Regions from separate parts of the Homo sapiens genome. Here regions 2, 3, 4, 5 and 6 are each linked to region 1. Evidence: promoter capture Hi-C in human tissues and cell types (Jung and others, 2019). All regions are on one chromosome and are shown on one strand. Each heading gives the region's core, a stretch centred on a gene start or on the middle of the fragment in contact. The rest is flanking DNA. Distances are from core to core; before and after follow the strand shown.

Region 1 (2,852 bases), core at 213-2,712:
CAAACGCCAGTTATGATTCTTATTATTTATATAGCCAAAGGGCAGATAACCATATCTAATTGTTGGGCAGTCTGACCAACAAACAAGGAAAAAGTCTCCTACCCCAATGCCTACCCAAAGGCCCTAAGGAAGGCTGAACTAGATGAACTGAGAATCCATAGTATGGTAACAATTCACTCCTATAAGAGTCTACATAAGCAGAAACAATTCCTACTTATCCATGGATTCATGTGATCCAAAAGCAAAGTCCAGCTCACTTCATAGGGTGCGCCATACCTACATCACAAAGAGAGCCAGGGGGTTATGGGCACCAGTTTTGGAATCAATAGGCCAGAAGTCAAATACCAGTTCCGCTACTTACTAAATGCACTAAATGTGCGAAATTAGGCAAATTATCAATGCTGTCCTTTTTTTTTTTTTTTTTTTTTTTTTGAGACAGATTCTCCCTCTTGTTGCCCAGGCTGGAGTGCAATAGCACGATCTCGGCACACTGCAACCTCCGCCTCCTGGGTTCAAGTGATTCTCCTGCCTCAGGCTCCCGAGTAGCTGGGATTACAGGCGCCTGCCACCACGCCCGGCTAATTTTTTGTATTTTTTTAGTACAGACGGGGTTTCACCATGTTGGCCAGACTGGTCTCGAACTCCTGATCTCAGGTGACCCGCCCGCCTCGGCCTCCCAAAGTGCTGGGATTACAGGCGTGAGCCACCGTGCGCGGCCTCTATGCTGTCTTAAGTCCCATTTCCACAACTGTAAAATGTGAGTAACAGGTCCTATATAATAGGAAATGTGTGAGGATTTAAATGACTATACACGCAAAACGCCTAGCCCAGTGCCTGTTACTTATATAAATAAACCTCAGTAACAATTATTTTAGTCCTAAGTAAAGCCACCAGTGTGTTTCCCCACAAATCCAGCGCAGATTTGTCCAGAACCAATCAGTGCTAGAAGTGATAACATTTTCAGTTATTAATAGAATAAGAATGGGTTGGCCGGGCGCGGTGGCTCACGCCTGTAATCCTAAAGAGTAATGCCTAAAGAGTAACTCGTAAAAAAAAGTAGTCCTAACAATGGACCTCTGGGTTTATGTTGGCCTCTGAGGAGTCTCTGGGGCTCTTACATTGCAGCCTATCCTCCAGAGCCAGGATCCAATCCCGAGTCGGGACGCGTGACTGCCCTTACCGCTCAGGTCAAGGGCTCCAGTTAAGCCTCCTGGACCACCCAACTCTACAATGAGGAATCATCGAGTCGCAGCTTTCGCCGCCCGTTGAAGGGCCGTGCCCGAGATCTATGCACAGAGGAGGCCACAGTTGCTCCCTTACAGACCAAAGGCCCGCAGGCAGGTTCCAGCAAAGAAACTGGACACGCTACCCTGGGTCCTCCTCCCAGATCACCTGAAATCCGTCCCTCCAGCCCCGCCACCTACGTGCTCCAGGCCTGTCTGGGCGCCGCCATCTTGCCCCGCAGAGATCGCGTTTCCGCCGCCGCCAGATTCCAGCTTCCGCCCCGCAGCCCAGCCCCGCCTCTCCCGGTCTTATCTCGGAGCATTCTGGGCTTTGCTTGTTCAGTGCAGCGGACTGGTGAGCGCGGTGCTGCGCGGCTGGCGGTTTATTACCCCCACGTAAGCTCTATACCATCACCCAGAACACACATCCTTTTTTTTTTTTTTTTTTTTTGAGACAGAGTCTTGCTCTGTCGCACAGGCTGGAGTGCTGTGGCGCAATCTCGGCTCACTGCAACCTCCGCCTCCCGGGCTCAAGCGATTCTTGTGCCTCAGCCTCCCGAGTAGCTGGGATTACAGGTGCCCGCCACCACGTCTGGCTAATTTTTGTATTTTTAGTAGAGACGGGGTTTCACCATGTTGGCCAAGCTGGTCTCGAACTCCCGACCTTAGGTAATCCGCCCGCCTCGGCCCCCCAAAGTGCTGTGATTACAGGATGTGCCACCGCGCCTGGCCCACACATGCTTCTGATGTACAGCAGGCACAGCCCCTTCTGCACTTACGACACCCCTGGCAGGGACACAGCGTTCCTCAGACGTCCCTCTGCACTCACCAGCCAGTGTTACCACATCCCACATCCCAGCACCCACGCCCACGGCAGCACACAGAAACGTGGACACACACACACACCCCAACGTGACGAATGTGTTTATGGAAGAGCTAGAAGGTAACCATGAAAAAGGCCCAAGGAAAGAACACTGCCAGTGTGCACTGCAGAAATAGTGGTGGTGAGAAGAGAGGGAATAAAGCTTCCTTGCTAGCAAGGTTATCATCTTCTCCAGAATCTTGCCTTTGTTCATCCCACTCTCCCTTCTTGGAAATCCTCCCTCTTTTCCCTGCCACCCCTGTCTCCAAAGGATAACTCTTTAAGGCCTAGCTGGCGTCAACTCTAAAACCTCTGCCAGCCACGCCTACTCACCAAACTTTCCTTGGATTCACCTGGAATCTCACCGCCTGCACCAGTTGTGTGGTATGCTAAGAACACACTGCCAACTACCAACTGTCACCGGTTACCTTTTCACAGGCTTATGTCCTGTTCCCTTGAATAGACTGTCAGTTCCTTGTGGGCACCAGACCTTGTACTTTGCATCTAAATACTGAGCACCCAACGTGTTGCCATGCACATAGTAGGACCTTAAGTAAATCATTTCTAGACCAAAGGACATCATGGGGCAGCCAATGTTAGTCCAGTGGCTTTCCAACTTTAACAGGCACCAGAATCAACTGGAAGTCTTGTTAAACCAGATTGCTGGGGCCAGGCACAGTGGCACATGCCTATAATCCCAGTACTTTGGGAGGCTGAAGCTGGCAGATCACCTAAGGTCAGGAGTTCGAGACCAGCCTGACCAACAT
Region 2 (2,852 bases), core at 91-2,590, 480 kb after region 1:
ATCTGAATTGGGCTTTAGACGAGGAATGGGATTTCAACAGCTAGTGAGCCTAGGCACCACTAGGAGGAAGAGAGAGGCATCCTAGGAGGAAGAAACAGCATGAACACAGGCAGGGAGGCCAGAAAGCAGGGCACGCTTATGTATGCAGGTGGTCTGGTGTCTGTGCAGTGAGTTGTGTGGGAAGAGATACTGGGGGTAGAGAGTGGAACACAGGGGTGGTAGAAATTGGGCAGAAAGAAGGAGGCTTTGTGAAAGAACAAATCTGGAAAACACCCAGGTAAGGCCCCTCTGCTCTCTGGAGGGCCAGGCACATGAAGAGGTCCCACAGATACCACCAACTTGGTTCTGGCCCTGCATTTGGACCCAGTCTGCCCTGTGTTCAGAGGTCACCCTTCATTCCATACTAGATTAGGGTCCAAATAATCATGACCCTAAAAGGCCATACTTTATATTTGGACGTAGTCTCTAAGCAGTAGGGGGCTATTGATGGTTTTTGAGCAGGAGAGCTGAACTTTAAGAAGGCAAGGATGATTGATGTTGAAACAAGGGATCAATTAGGAGGTGAGATGTGAACCATCTGGGATAGGGGAAGTAGGGTGGAAAGTTAAGGGAGAGATAAGGCCAGAACAGGCCATACAAGCTAAGTCCAGGAGTTTCTGTGGCAACTCAACCCACAGCACTATACTGTCCTGAAAGTCATGGGGTCCCATCTGTCTCCCCATCCCTCCCACTCCCCCACCCTTCCCAATCAGATAGGCCAGGTTGAGCCCCAAACACCAGGGCATTCCTCAAGGCCTCCTATTTGGCCTCTTCTCACTGAAGAAGCCCAGCCACAAACCCCCACTCCAACTCGTATGTTTCCTCACTGTCTATCAACTCCTCAGAGCAGGGTCTCAACTCATTTTAGTTGAATTAAATCAAATTGAATAGGGGGCTGATGGGAGCTTGGTGGAAGTTTCTTCCCCCACATCCTCTGTGGTGCCTCTGTCCCAGGTGGGAGCCAGTGTGACCTTGAACTAAGTGGACTGATCTACTGGAAAGTATTTACCGACTGCCTGCTGGGTGCCCATCTCTGTGCTGACCACTCAGGTGGGGTCTGGAATAAAACAACCAAGAATGTAAAATCTAGAAAGGGGAGGAAAGGGGGTAAAATTAAATGGTAAATTGGCCAGTGTGGGCTCTAAGTGGGATGGGAGGGGAGCAGAGCAGAGGACTCGGGGAGTTGGAAGTGGACTGGGACAGTGAGTAAGGAGTGTCAGGCAAACAGTGACATCCCCACGCCAGGGTGCGGGTGCCAAAGCAGCAATCTTGGTACACAACTGCTGCTCCAAGTCAAGTGCTCTTTTGGTAGAGTTCCTTCTGTGTGGAAATTCTGAACTTGTCTCTGCAGCAAGGGGAGGGAACAGTTCCTTTCCACCCAGCACTGATGACCAGGGAGCCCCAGGATCCTCAGATCCCCTGGGCTACTTGGGCCCAGCCTTGCTGCTGTGTGCGCTGAGGCCTCCGACTCCAGGCCTGTCGCCAGGCTTGTTACCTGACACTTCAGATGGGGTGACCAGGCACTGCCTCTGCCAGCAGACTCTTGGCCTCAGGTAACCCAATATTGAAAAGCACATTCCTCCCAGAAGCCCAGTGGATGCCACTCCCCTGTGGGCCCAGCAAGGATGACTCCTCACTGTCCGCTTTCCAGGTGGTTCAGGGCCCTGTCCCTTCCTTCCCACCTCCTGCCAGCAGCACCTGTCTCCAGCCTCCTCTCTGCCTCCTACAGCTTGTGAGCTTTAGAAACACTCCCTTCAACCTCTCGTTCTTCTGCTGAAAAGCACCTAACGCTTTTCCAGTCTTTGCCAACAAACTCTGGATTCCAATACCTTCCATAAACCAGGTAGGACCCAGGAGCAGCTCTACGTATATACGGAATTTTAGCATACAATAAAGGAAGTATGTGAAATCAGTCGTGAAACTGTAAGAATTAAAGAGGAGCCAGGCGCGGTGGCTCACGCCTGTAATCCCAGCACTTTGGGAGGCTGAGGTGGGTGGATCACGAGGTCAGGAGATCGAGACCATCCTGGCTAACACAGTGAAACCCCATCTCCACTACACAAAAAATTAGCCGGGCATGGTCGCGGGCACCTGTAGTCCCAGCTACTCAGGAGGCTGAGGCAGGAGAATGGCATGAATCCGGGAGGCGGAGCTTGCAGTGAGCCAAGATTGCACCACTGCACTCCAGCCTGGGAGACAGAGTGAAACTCTGTCTCAAAAAAGAAAAAAAAAAAAAGGAAAAGAAAAGAAAAGAAAGAAAGAGGAAAGAAACATGAAAGGTGACTCGCCAGTAAGACAGGTTTACTTAAGGGAAAACAAACCTGAGAGGGGCTTCTGGCCAAGTTAGGTCAGAGGCATACTCTCTTACAGACTAAGAGTTTTTAAGGATTCAGAGTGGGAGAGTTTATCAGAGGCTTGGACTGCTTCTGTGTCTCTTTGTTGTGCTTATCTGGGAGGGAGAGTTGTGTGTCTGTTCCCATACATCTTCCTGTAGCTGCAGGCATACCTCCCCCCACCCCCCACTGGAGTCTGCTTTTAGCTTCCCTATCTTAGTGCACCTGAAGGGAAAGGAATGTGCTTATTAAGGCCCAATGTTTTACTGGGACCCATTGTATGCAGGCGAAGTTTGGCAGTTCCAAGAGACGTTCCCCCTACCTCCCTCTGTACCCAAGCTATCTTATCTGTGTTTTACTGCCTGCTCTTTCTGGCTGCTTGTAGTTAGAAGAGAAGTGATTTCCTTGAAATGCATGAGGCTAGAAAGGGAGCTGGAACTTAGAGTGGTGGTGTTTGTCTGAGATGACGGTGCTCCTGCT
Region 3 (2,852 bases), core at 165-2,664, 390 kb after region 1:
CAAAGTTCAAAAGTGGATGCATTTGTACTTCCCTGATTGTGGTCTGCTGGTGCCTTTTTCATTTTTTTCTGCACCCCTCTTAGTCACAGCTTGGATGTCCAGGCCCCATTTCCTAGCTCTGTCGATTCTTTTGAGATATGGGTTGAGTAAACCTTATCCGAAAAGGTTGGGACTGGAAGTGTTTTGGATTTCAGATTTTCTGATTGGGGAATATCTGCACATACATATATAATGAGAGATCTTGGGAAAGGGACCCAAGCCTAAACACTAAATTCATTTATGTTTCATAGACACCATACACAGATGGCCTAAAGGTAATTTTACAGAACATTTAAAATAATTTTGTGCATGAAACAAAGTTTGGATCGTGCCCCGTCACATGAGGTCAGGTGTAGAATTTTCCACTTGTGGCATCACGTCAAAAAGTTTTGGATTTTGGAGGATTTTGGATTTTGAATTTTCAGTTTCAAGATGTTCAACCTGTATTGTGTTTGAGCACCTTAGCTGTGTTGGCAGGCCCTTGAAACAGCCTGTTCCTGTTTATATCACTACCCAGGCGCCTTTTTGATTCTTGAGGGCTTTCCTTAACATCTCCTTAACATTGCCTAGGAGGACTTAAAGATGTTTGTATATAGACGTTAAAATGGTAATCAGTGATTCTGAAGTTTCTGTTATTGCCCGTCATGTTACCTGAAGTGCAGTTAGATCCTCCCGGCTTCATGTACTATTACTGTCCACTGCTTTTACCAGCAGGGCATTTTCTGTCCTTTTATTTTTCATTGTCTTCCCAGTTCTATTCATTGGTTTATAATGAATAGGCTGGGATTAAGAGGCGAGAGCTTAAACATCAGGAAAAGACACTCTCGAATTTTCATTTGACAGCTGTTGTTCCTGAGAGAATAAGTCGATCTGTTAGAAAATTTAGATAGAGCTTTTTCCTTCTAGAGTTATTTAAATTTTTAAAAGGGAGAAGCTGTACTATTTTTATTACCAAAATCAAGTCTATTGAAGGCTACGCAAAACCTCATATTCTCAAGAAACCATAGGAATAATCTGTGGTTAAAACAGCACCTTGAAAATGCCAAATGCTAAATAGATTGATAAGAATACCAGTTGCTACATTATAATTTTTCAAAGGATGTTATGATTGGAGTCAGAATCCGGAGGTTTGTACTAAGTAGCTGGGAACACACTTGTGTTCATGCTAACTCTAGAAATATATCCTAGATTATGTTTAGGTTCAGCATGGACTCAATAGTATTCTAGGAAACAGTATTTCAGCGGCCAGCATGATAAGAGGTCGAGTGGGAAGGAAAATGCTATGCGTGTGGATAAAGGTGCTCTTTCTTCTCATCGCAGAGTCAAACACCTGGCTGCTATCACCAAGGACAAAGGATGTTCTGAAGAGTGAACCAACTCAGATTTACCCACACACTTCAAGAAAGCAATTTAGAAAACCGCAGGAATCCAAACATTCTTTCATTGGCTACTAAAATACAAGAAAAGAAATCAAGAAAAGTTTGTAGGACTTTTAGGAAGCTATTACTTGATCAGAATATTATTATTATAAATATATCAGAACACTTTTATCCTTGCTTGATGGGAATTCAACACTTCACGTCAGCCAGGAAAGCTACAGGTTAGTAACTAAACTAACCTAGTCTGTTGTCCCTAAAGATTTTCTGCCAATGGCCAGGCATGGTGGCTCACACCTGTAATCCCAGCACTTTGGGAGGCCGAGGCGGGTGGATCACACCTGAGGTCAGGAGTTTGAGACCAGTTTGGCCAATATGGTTACCATACTGATTATCATTTTAACATTTATATACAAACATCTTTAAGTCTTCCTAGACAATGTTAAGGAAATGTTAAGGAAAGCCCTCAAGAATCAATATGGTGAAACCCCGTCACTTCTAAAAATACAAAAATTAGCCAGGCATGGTGGCAGGCACCTGTAGTCCCAGCTACTCAGGAGGCTGAGGCAGGAGAATCACTTGATCCTGCGAGGCAGAGGCTGCAGTGAGCACTCCATTGCACTCCAGCTTTGGTGACACAGCAAGACTCCGTCTCAAAAAAAAAAAAAAAAAAAAAGATTTTCTGCTAACCATAATTGAACTAAGGAAAACTTGAGGGGTAAGGAGTTTCCATACGGAGTAGTATACTAAAAATTGCTCCAAAATCAATTGCCCTCATGGGTTTCATTTATACGGCTCCTAAACAGGAGATTTAGATGACGTTTACTCCCCTGGAATGCTATGTATTTTTTTTTTTAAATAAATAGGGATGAGGTCTCACTATGTTGGCCAAGCTGGTCTCTAACTCCTGAACTCAAGGGATCCTCGTGCCTCGGCCTCCCAAAGGGCTGGGATTATAGGCGTGAGCCACCGCGCCCAGCCACTCAGCTTTTGAGGGTTAATCATCAACCGCACAAAGGGGAAAGGAGGAGCAGTGGAGGGCAGTACACAAGCGGCCACCTTTCCTCCTTCCCAGGCACAATGCCCATAAGGGAGGCAAAGACCCGCCAATAAAGTCAGTGGGGGATGCTTTAAACATCTTGTGGGGTCACAGTTTGTACCCAGTCTATTATCCCATGTTGACATTAATTCTTGGCAAAGGTGGGGCTGTGGTCTTATGAAGCTGGTCTTACGAAGCTGGGTGTAGGTGTGAGTATACGTGAGAACGTGGCACTGTTTGCAATCGTTTGAGCTGAAGCTGCTTTACAACAGTATGCATTCTTTGGGGTTAGTGTGTTGAAAATGTCAGCTGAGTGACTTCCACCACCAGCTGCGCCCCTAACACCGTGTGGCACCGGGCTTGGGAACCACAGCTGTGGCCCGTCGTGCTGTCATCGC
Region 4 (2,852 bases), core at 1-2,500, 380 kb after region 1:
GGCTCAGCTATGAGGCAGGCGAGCCAGGAGCCCAGGCATGCAGGCTAACAGCCCGCAGCCCAGAATGAGGATGCGGGGGTGACCCAAAACCAGCACACTCCAAGAGTAAGACTGAGCCATACTTCTTCCCAGGGCTCCCCTGGATCCAGGTGGTAACACTGGCCTTTGGTGCACGGGGACTAGCAGTGGCCTCTCAGCATCCTGTTGGTCTCACCAATGCCACCTCTTTCAGGTTTGGTTGGTTATATTCCTATCGTCCTGACATCCTAACAGCTACCATGTAGTGGGTGCACTGATTGATCCCCCTCCCTGTGCACCAGGCACTATGCCAAGTGCTCTGTCACACTGACCAACTGTCACCCCAAGTTCTTGTGAAGTGCTCTTATTAGCTCCATGGTACAGATTGGAGAACAGGGTTAGTCATCTGCCCAGGAGTGCAGAGCCAGGAGCTAGGGTGTCAGCAGGGCCACCTGACCTCGAGGCTGTATTCTTAACCTAGCGCATGTTCATTCCTTAAGCCTTCTGGAACGAAGCCTCCTCCCACCCATCTTGCCTCTGGAGAGGAGACAGCAGAGTCCCAGCCCCTGGCCTCTGTGCAAGGCATCTCCTGGCTTACCTTGGCCAGCCTCGCTCGCTTGATGAGGTCGTTGAGCTTGCGCACCGCTGCCTTCTGGGGGAGGCTCTGGATGTCTCTAAAGAGGTCCTGGGCCTCAGCCTCGAAGAGCCGGCGGTTGTCCGTGTTCTGCAGGGGCTGCGCCCAGAAGGAGCCAATGTAGACGCGCAGTACCTCGGGCGTGTTGATGACCTTGCCTAGGGACCACATGAGGGCCCCGTAGACCCGCATCAGCTGCTGCGTGTCCACTTGGTCGGCCTTGTTCAGCACGACACGGATCTTGTCGTCCTGGCCCCGGAAGGCCTTGATGGCCTCTGAGAATTCATCTGAGATGTCCAGCTTGTGAGCGTCAAAGAGCAGGATGATCCTGTCCACCCTCTCGGCAAACCACTGCAGGACCTGGCAGAAGTCATAGCCTGGGTGGAGAGAAGGACACGTCAGTGTAGCCACTGCTGCAGGAGACACGTTTAATGGGCGGCTCAGGAACAGTCTCGCTCTCCAGCAGCTGCCAGGGAGAGAGCCCTGTCTCCAACCTGGAGGCAGTGGAGGCCTGGTGACATGAAAATCACGGGCTGGATGAATCCGGGTGGGAAGGACCTGGGGAGCCCTTCCACAGGAGGAGGGAGGAAAGAGAATGGGGCTCATGGTCACTTTGGGAATTGCTGACTTTCATATCTGCGATTTCATTTAGTCCTCATGAGTGTTTTATTTCACCTAATACAGACCTTTTGCTTGATGGCAGAATTGATCAATGGTTTTATAAAAACACAGGCCATGGGTCAAAAGATCTTACTTCTGAAAAGTCTCACTTTTCTGAAAGCCCCAAATACAGAAGAAAGAGAACCAGAGGCCACCTGGCATCCCATGGGGGTATCCAGTAAGCATAACAGAAGAGGCATCGCCTTCAATTAACCCAAGTTTGTAGAGTGCTGAGGAGGTCAAAGGTTGGCCCAGCCAGTGTTGTGATCAATATTTATCTTTGGACTATTTATAACTCAGGTATATTGTGAATATTTTTTTAACATTACGTATCACAGCCATTGTGTAAAATGGTCTCTTGCCAATTTCTTTTTTTAAAATGGCCTGGCCCACAGCAAATTCTGTCCAGCCTATTCTGACCACCTCCACAAATCATGCAGCTGCATAAACACTCTTCAGCCCAAGGTCAAGGCTCTCAGGCCTTTCCCCAGGGAGGCAGATTCCCACGAAAAGCAAACAAGAGGAGGCCAAGCCCACAAAGTTGACTTTTAATCTCAGTCTGACTAGTTGCAGAAGCAGAGTCTCAATCCAGCCCAGCTAGTGCTGAGATGTCACCTGCCTGACCCCCATGCTAGGGGTCGTCTCCCCTCTTCTTTTAGATTTTGAAAACTTTCAAACATACATAAACATCTGTAAGTCATATAATGAATGCTGATGTACCTACCACATAATTTTAACAAATGTTGACACTTTGCTTTGTTTGCTATTTCAGATATGTTTTAAAACCAAGTATCGTTTCTTTAGATAACAAAATACCATACGGTGGTGAGAAGGAACTAGATCTTCACTTGTCAACACAGGTAAATCTCCAGAAAAGAACAAGAGTAAAAGCTTAGTTTCAAAAGGACATATACAGCATGATAACATTCATGTAAAATGTTAAAATACAAAATACTCAACCATCTGTGGATACAGACTATAGCACAAATACAAAAATGTCAACATCGATTGTGAGACCCTGGTTGGCTGTGGGGGTGGAGAAGGTGTGAATCCAAGGCAGAGGAAAAAGTATCTGAGGTGAATAATCTATTAGGTGAAAATAAAGAGGGTCTGCGGACTAAGGTTTCCATGCATTTGAAGAACAGGTGTTAGAGGAATAGCTGAACAAGCAAACTGGATTCAGGTCCATTTTTCATAAAGAAAACAAGACAGTTGGTAACGCTGAAGCCCCCTGTGCACCCCTCCCTGAGCCCTTCCCCCCACTAGCAGGCCGCTGTCCTGAGTGTGGTGTTTATGCCGCCACACGCGTGGATACTTCCAGTTCATGCTTTTCATTTCTCTGTTCTGTCTCACTGCGGCACTCCCTGACTCCTTGGGGATAAGGAAGACAAAGGCAGTTCTCGGAATGTGGGCCAGAGTTTATTTTCATTGCTGTCAGCAGCCAGTTTAGGTCAGAGGAATATCAAAGACCTACTGACAGGGTCACACATAGTCAAGGTTTCACTCTGAGTTCTGTCCCTGAAAGGCCAGAACAAACTGC
Region 5 (2,852 bases), core at 186-2,685, 350 kb after region 1:
CCTGTGAGTCTCTCTTATGACAGACAGTGACATTTTCCACCCCAGTAGGGACCTGGATTGCTACTGCCATGGCCAGCTGGGTGCTCTCCAAGTCAGGGGTGCTGTGCGAGGAGGGCGTGGCTTCTGCTCCTCTGTGTCCCAGCCACTCCTCCTGTACTCAGGCCCCAGCTCCTCTGTTCTGCCCAGTGGCCTGGCGCAGGAAAGGTGACCCAGTAGTTCAGCCTGTCCCAGCTGCCTGCCCCAGCACCATCCCAGACCCCTTTCCCTGGGGCCCACCTTGGCCCTGAGGAAGGCCAGAGCTCGGCTGCTGTTCTCCAGGAAGTGCACACGCAGGCGGCCCCGGCTCGGGGGTGGCAGGGCCTCCCCTGAGATGAGCTCCAGCAGCCGCAGGAGGTGGATGCCGTCAGCCAGCTCTGTGTACAGGTTCCGGATCTTGATGCCCGCCTGGGGAGGGGACAGGGGTAAGTATGGGGTCAGCCCAGCCTCACCTGTCCTCCCATCCTGGGACCTGAGAGGTACGACCCAGAGCAGCTGCTTTGGAAGAAGGAGCTCTGGCCTCAGCTTGGCCTCAGGCAGATGACCCCACAGCTCACCCCGGAGGCCCACTGGCCAGAGCTGGGGGCCTGGTATGGGTGGGCTGTGGGTCACAGCTGGCTATACTCACCTGGCCGCACTGGAAGACGTTATTGATCCACTTGGTGAAAGTCTTCTCCTGCATCTGCATGTGCCGGGCCTGTAGCTTGCGAATGTGGCCCGTCTCGTACTGAGAGTCCATGGTGAGACTTGGACTGGGCGGGACCCGGAGTTCTGTGCTGGGCCTCCTGCTGCGGTGCCCTGCAGCCCCGAGGAGCTCCCGGGGACTGTGGGGCTGACCAGCCATCAGCCCTGCAGACTTTGGGGATGAGGAGCTGCTGGATGGCTCCCTAAACCTGGAGGGCATGCAGATTAGGGGATGATGTGAATGGAGATGGCCCCTCTACCAGGGGCCTGGGGTCCCGCCTTGCCAGACTGTCCTCACATTTCATGGGGGTTGCAGCTTGGAGCCCAGCCAGGTAAGGGCCAGTGCTTCTGGTCCCCTGTGCTTGAATGGCCCAGGGCCCCCTTTGCCCCACCCCACCTTCCAGATTCTTCTTCTCAGAGCCCCTGCTGCCAGGTCCCTCCACCACAGTGACTGGGACAGGTGGAAGGAAGACAGGAAACTGCTTACCTTGGTGATGCCTGGGTCCCACAGAGACGGCTCTGCTGGACGGATGGAGATGGTAGATAGCAGGGGCTGCTTACCTTGGTGATGCCTGGGTTCCACAGAGGCGGCCCAGCTGGACGGATGGAGATGGCAGATAGCAGGGGCTGTGGAGGGAGGGAGAGGGACATCAGGAGAGGCCAAGGCTGGAGCAGGGCTGCACCACAGCCCTCCCCTTGAGCCAGCGTGCTGGGGTGACGGCACACAGGCGGCATTGTCCTCCCACCTGCCACAGGGCGTGGCCCAGACAGGGAGGGGGTGGTTCAGGAATGCTCCAGGGCCATTGCCAGATGATGTCCTCCTTCATCATCCTCCCTTCCCCGCCAGCAACTTCTCCAACTCCAGGTGGGGGTCCTGGCTCCCAGGACGCAGAGGCCCATGGAGCGGCCCTGCCACCGCATGGGGTGCTGCAGTCTGCGTAGGAGGTACCAAAGGGCAGAGCCTCTGTGGGAAGCCTGTGGACGCACTTCCCAATCTGAGACTGCCCTCTGTACCCTCTTGGGGCCTCTCTGTGAGCACCCAGGGCGAGGGGATGAGGGAGCGTCCTGGGCCGTGGTCTTCTCATTCACCCCCAGGGAACAGCCCATAGACTGAGGGCCTCACAGACCCTGGGCTTGGCTTTCCAGGCCCTGCCAGAGTGCAGCCTGCCTAGCCCGGGGCTGAAGGGTAGGCTCCCTGGAGGAAGGGGTGACCTGGAACTGCGAGGGCTGTGGAGTCTCCTCCAAAATTAGAGACACGGTGTTAACTCTGGGCTCCACAGAGCTGGCCGTGGCCCGGGGCTCGGAGGCAGGGGTGCAGAGGGAGCTGGTGGGCGCCCATCCCTTCCTCCCCGAGCAGCCGTGGACTACATGCCAGAGTGAAGGCGAGTTCTAATTCTGGGGGTCTCACCCGCCTCTGGCTAAACTCAGGGTAGCAGTGTGGGCTGGGGTGTGTGTGTGTGGGTGTCTTCCAGCGGCCCTGGAGCCTCTGAAGCGACAGCCCGCTCCTCAGGGAGGCGCTCCTGGCAGCCACAGCCCACAGCAGGACAGCCGCTCAGCGCGCCCTTGAGAGCTGGGCTAGGGATGAGTCACACTTGAACCGCCTGGGCCCACTGCAGGCAGTCAGGGGTGACGCTGAGAGGTGCCGTGGTCTCGGGTGGGGTGCGGCTTCCTGCGTCTGAGAGACGCTTCCTCTCCTGCTGTCCTCTCCCTGCCAGGCCCCTTCTGCAGCGGCTGGCTTCCAGACACCCTGCGTCCCTCCCTTGCTCGCAGCAGTTGCTGTGGCGGTCCTCCCGTGCACCCCCCCTTCTGCCCTCACTGCCCCTGGGGGTCCTCATCACGGACCCCCTAACTCGGCATCCTGGACACCACCACCCCGCACCTTTCCACAGTGCAGCTCTGCTCGTGCCTGTGAAGCCTCCCACAGCCTGGGAAGGAAAATCCAGACTTGCCAGACCTTGCCTCAGCCAGGCCTTGGAAGCCTGCCAGCTTACCTAACCAGGCTAGTCTGCCCCCCTCACTCTGGGTGCTCTCCATGGGCCACTCACCATTTCCTGAGCAGGACCAGAGCTCTCCTGCCCCAAGGCTGGGCTTCAGCTGCTCTTTCAGCTTTGAACGTCCTTTCCCATTCTCCA
Region 6 (2,852 bases), core at 171-2,670, 260 kb after region 1:
ACACAAACACACACATTAGCCTAGCGCATAGAACTACATAGGGTCAGGATCATCAAGATGTCACTAAGTGACAGGAATATTTTAGCTCCATTATAATCTTACGGGACTACTGTCATACATGCCCTTCGCTGTTGACCAAAATGTTATTATGTGACGTATGACTGTACTTATTCTATGCCAGGTACTTTTTAAGCACTTTATATGAATTATTTAATACTCTGAGCAACTATTATCACCCTCATATTTTAGAGGAGGAAATTGAGATCCAAAGAGGTCAAGCAGGCCAAGTGCAGTGGCTCACGCCTATAATCCTAGCACTTTGGGAGGGCAAGGTGGGCGGATCACCTGAGGTCAGGAGTTCAAGACCAGCCTGGCCAACATGGTGAAATCTTGTCTCTAGCAAAATACAAAAATTAGCCTGGCGTGATGGCGGGTGCTGGTAGTCCCAGTTACTCGGGAGGCTGAGCTGGGAGAATCGCTTGAACCTGGGAGACGGTGGTTGCAGTGAGCCGAGATCGTGCCACTGCACTCCAGCCTGAGCGGCTGAGCAAGACTCCATCTCAAAAAAAAAAAAAAAAAAAAAAGGTTAAGCAGGCAGGGTGCAGTGGCTTTGGGAAGCCAAGGTGGGAGGATTGCTTGAGACCAAGAATTTGAAACCAGCCTGGGCAACATAGTGAGAACCCTGTCTCTACCAAAAAGTAAAAATAAAAAAAATTAGCTGGGTATGGTGGCATGTGCCTGTAGTCCTAGCAACTGGGGAGGCTGAGGCAGGAGGATTGCTTGAGCCCAGGAGGTGAAGGCTGCAGTGAACTATGATCGTGCCATTGCACTCCAGCTTGGGTGACACAGTGAAACCCTGCCTCTTAAAAAAACCAAAAGGGTTAAGGAGTTTGCTTGAGGTAACATAGCTAGTGTGTGTAATGGGGTTCTAACCCAAGTAGTATGACTGTAGAGCTCTGATTGTTAAAATGGCACAGAGTAGGGGGAGACCACACTGTTTTTTTTTGAGACAGAGTTTCATTCTTCTTGCCCAGGCTGGAGTGCAATGGCACGATCTCAGCTCACCGCAACCTCCGCCTCCTGGGTTCAAGCAATTCTCCTGCCTCAGCCTCCAGAGTAGCTGGGATTACAGGCATGCGCCATCATGCCCAGCTAATTTTGTATTTTTAGTAGAGATGGGGTTTCTCCATGTTGGTCAGGCTGGTCTCAAACTCCCGACCTTAGGTGATCTGCCCACATTGGCCTCCCAAAGTGCTGGGATTACAGGTGTGAGCCACTGTGCCCGGCCACTTTCTGCTTATTTTTAACAAATTGCTTTTCCTCTAAGCTGCCTACCTGCCCTTTGAATGAGAAGAGCCCCATTTATGGGCAGCTCAGTCTGTGCAAGGGAGACTTCTGCCCCTGGGTTTGGGGTCAGTGTCTCTCCCAAGTGGTCCTCTGGTGTTTAATGGCTGCAGTAAGGGTGCTGTGGGAGCCACACGGGCTCTGCCTGGCAAAGGCTGGGCTAGGCTCCATTTTCCCCTAGAGAAGCAAGCTGATGGAAAGACCTCTCTACTGGATAAGTTTGTGCAGCCTGCCTCAGGGGAATTCCACTTGTTCTTGCCTCTGCCTGGGAAAGCCAGGTTCCCTCTTGTTGGAGGTGGGGCTGGGGCTGGATGTAGCACAGGCAAAAAAGGCCTTGGGGTGCTGCTTGGTGCATGCTGAGACCTGTGTCCCTGCCCTGGAGAGTGTGGAGTCCTGCCCGCTTTCTTCCTCACACACCCCTGGACTCCAGGCCTGGCCTTTAAGGGCATGTGCTTATGCATGTTTATGAGCAGGTCTCAGCCCAGTGCATGTGCCTGGGAGTCATGATCCTTCCAGATGGTGTACAGGCTTTCCTGATGGAACCTCTAGTAGGTTTCCTAAGCGTGTATGCTTGGCTTAGGCCATCCCTGGGCAGTGCCCCTAATCTGTTCCCTGACCTTTTGATTTCTTAGAACTTGAAGTTGTCTGTGCAAATGGCTTCTTTTCTGGGTGTTTGAGTTTTGCTGTGTTCTAGAACTCCCTGATGTGCTGCTGTGATGTTGGGGGCCACCAGATTCTGTGTGAGCACAAGCAGGTTCTTCACCTCCCTCCTTGTCTCCCTGCTTTTCTTATCTGATCATCCTTACACTGCCCCCAGCCCCCACGCTCTTGTTCCTCCTGTGCCTGTTGCTTTGGGAGCCAGCTCAGGTATCCTAGAAACAAGGAGAGAAACAAAACTCAGAAAATTCTCTGAGGCCCGGAGGCGAATATCAAACCAAAACAAAGTTTTCTGAAAGGAAATGGAACAGCACAGGAAAGGAGGGTGGGCAGTGTGTCAGGCAGAGGTGGGTAGGAGCTCCAGGCTGAGCATGGAGCCTGTCCTAGTGGCTCCTACATCCCTTGGCCGTTGTTTCCCCACGGGAAGCCCCCCTACTAGAGGATGCCAGACAGCCCCTTTGAGAGACTTAATTGAGTTGAACACCCTTAATTGAGTTGGGCCTTTTCCTCAGCCAGCTGGTGGAAGGTTGATGGGCCTTCAAGCCCAGCACAGCCCCTGTGCCCCTGTGCCCCTGTGCCCAGTCCTGAGAATGGGTTTCTCCTGGCTCCTATGCCAGAATGGCCTGGGTGAGTGCCCTGCGCACAGCTGCTCCTCTCCCGCTGGGATGGGAAGTGTCCCAGCAAGGTGACGGGGTGTATCTGGCAGCTAAGAAGAGACCTCTTGGTTGATTTAAGTGGGGAGGAGAAGAGGGAACCCCTGCTCTCCTGAGGAGGCCCTCCATTTCCTCAGCCCATGTTAAAATTGATTCTGAGATCCTCAGCTTTGAAGCATTGCACTGGGTGTGACAGAA

The links. Contacts are between HindIII fragments. The study calls those that stand out against the background at their distance.
Region 2: a contact is called between a fragment that was not itself captured here and the fragment with the promoter of RPAP1 in region 1, in 1 of the 25 tissues and cell types used here (lymphoblastoid cells).
Region 3: a contact is called between a fragment that was not itself captured here and the fragment with the promoter of RPAP1 in region 1, in 1 of the 25 tissues and cell types used here (mesenchymal stem cells).
Region 4: a fragment that was not itself captured here is called in contact with the fragment with the promoter of RPAP1 in region 1 in 1 of the 25 tissues and cell types used here (lymphoblastoid cells).
Region 5: a contact is called between the fragment with the promoter of SPTBN5 here and the fragment with the promoter of RPAP1 in region 1, in 2 of the 25 tissues and cell types used here (mesenchymal stem cells and thymus).
Region 6: a contact is called between a fragment that was not itself captured here and the fragment with the promoter of RPAP1 in region 1, in 3 of the 25 tissues and cell types used here (IMR-90 fibroblasts, dorsolateral prefrontal cortex and lymphoblastoid cells).

Annotation. Positions count from the first base shown.
Region 1 is chr15:41,542,795-41,545,646 of GRCh38, forward strand. RPAP1 (RNA polymerase II associated protein 1) reads right to left here and starts at 1,463. Exons shown (of 25, transcript NM_015540.4): 1 at 1,425-1,463. RefSeq lists a silencer at 23-223 and enhancers at 703-1,284, 1,218-1,607. The HindIII fragment of the contact is 9,616 bases long and covers 1,058-2,852 here.
Region 2 is chr15:42,022,941-42,025,792 of GRCh38, forward strand. It overlaps a transcript of PLA2G4E not described here. Among named protein-coding and RNA genes, the nearest start is that of PLA2G4E, 3.3 kb to the left of the region's middle. The HindIII fragment of the contact is 5,855 bases long and covers 1-2,852 here.
Region 3 is chr15:41,937,723-41,940,574 of GRCh38, forward strand. All of the region lies in intron 3 of EHD4 (EH domain containing 4), which reads right to left. Among named protein-coding and RNA genes, the nearest start is that of EHD4-AS1, 18 kb to the left of the region's middle. The HindIII fragment of the contact is 6,898 bases long and covers 1-2,852 here.
Region 4 is chr15:41,918,594-41,921,445 of GRCh38, forward strand. EHD4 (EH domain containing 4) reads right to left here. Exons shown (of 6, transcript NM_139265.4): 4 at 617-1,029. EHD4-AS1 (EHD4 antisense RNA 1) reads left to right here and starts at 2,824. Exons shown (of 4, transcript NR_120332.1): 1 at 2,824-2,852. RefSeq lists an enhancer at 816-1,315. The HindIII fragment of the contact is 4,716 bases long and covers 1-2,852 here.
Region 5 is chr15:41,892,618-41,895,469 of GRCh38, forward strand. It overlaps SPTBN5 (spectrin beta, non-erythrocytic 5), which reads right to left and starts at 1,436. Exons shown (of 68, transcript NM_016642.4): 1 at 1,282-1,436; 2 at 665-929; 3 at 277-444. The coding sequence starts at 880. LOC105370792 (a long non-coding RNA gene) reads left to right here and starts at 160. Exons shown (of 4, transcript NR_135681.1): 1 at 160-461; 2 at 2,610-2,719. RefSeq lists an enhancer at 221-280. The HindIII fragment of the contact is 14,752 bases long and covers 1-2,852 here.
Region 6 is chr15:41,802,852-41,805,703 of GRCh38, forward strand. The region is part of intron 3 of MAPKBP1 (mitogen-activated protein kinase binding protein 1); the gene reads left to right. Among named protein-coding and RNA genes, the nearest start is that of JMJD7, 24 kb to the right of the region's middle. The HindIII fragment of the contact is 5,645 bases long and covers 1-2,852 here.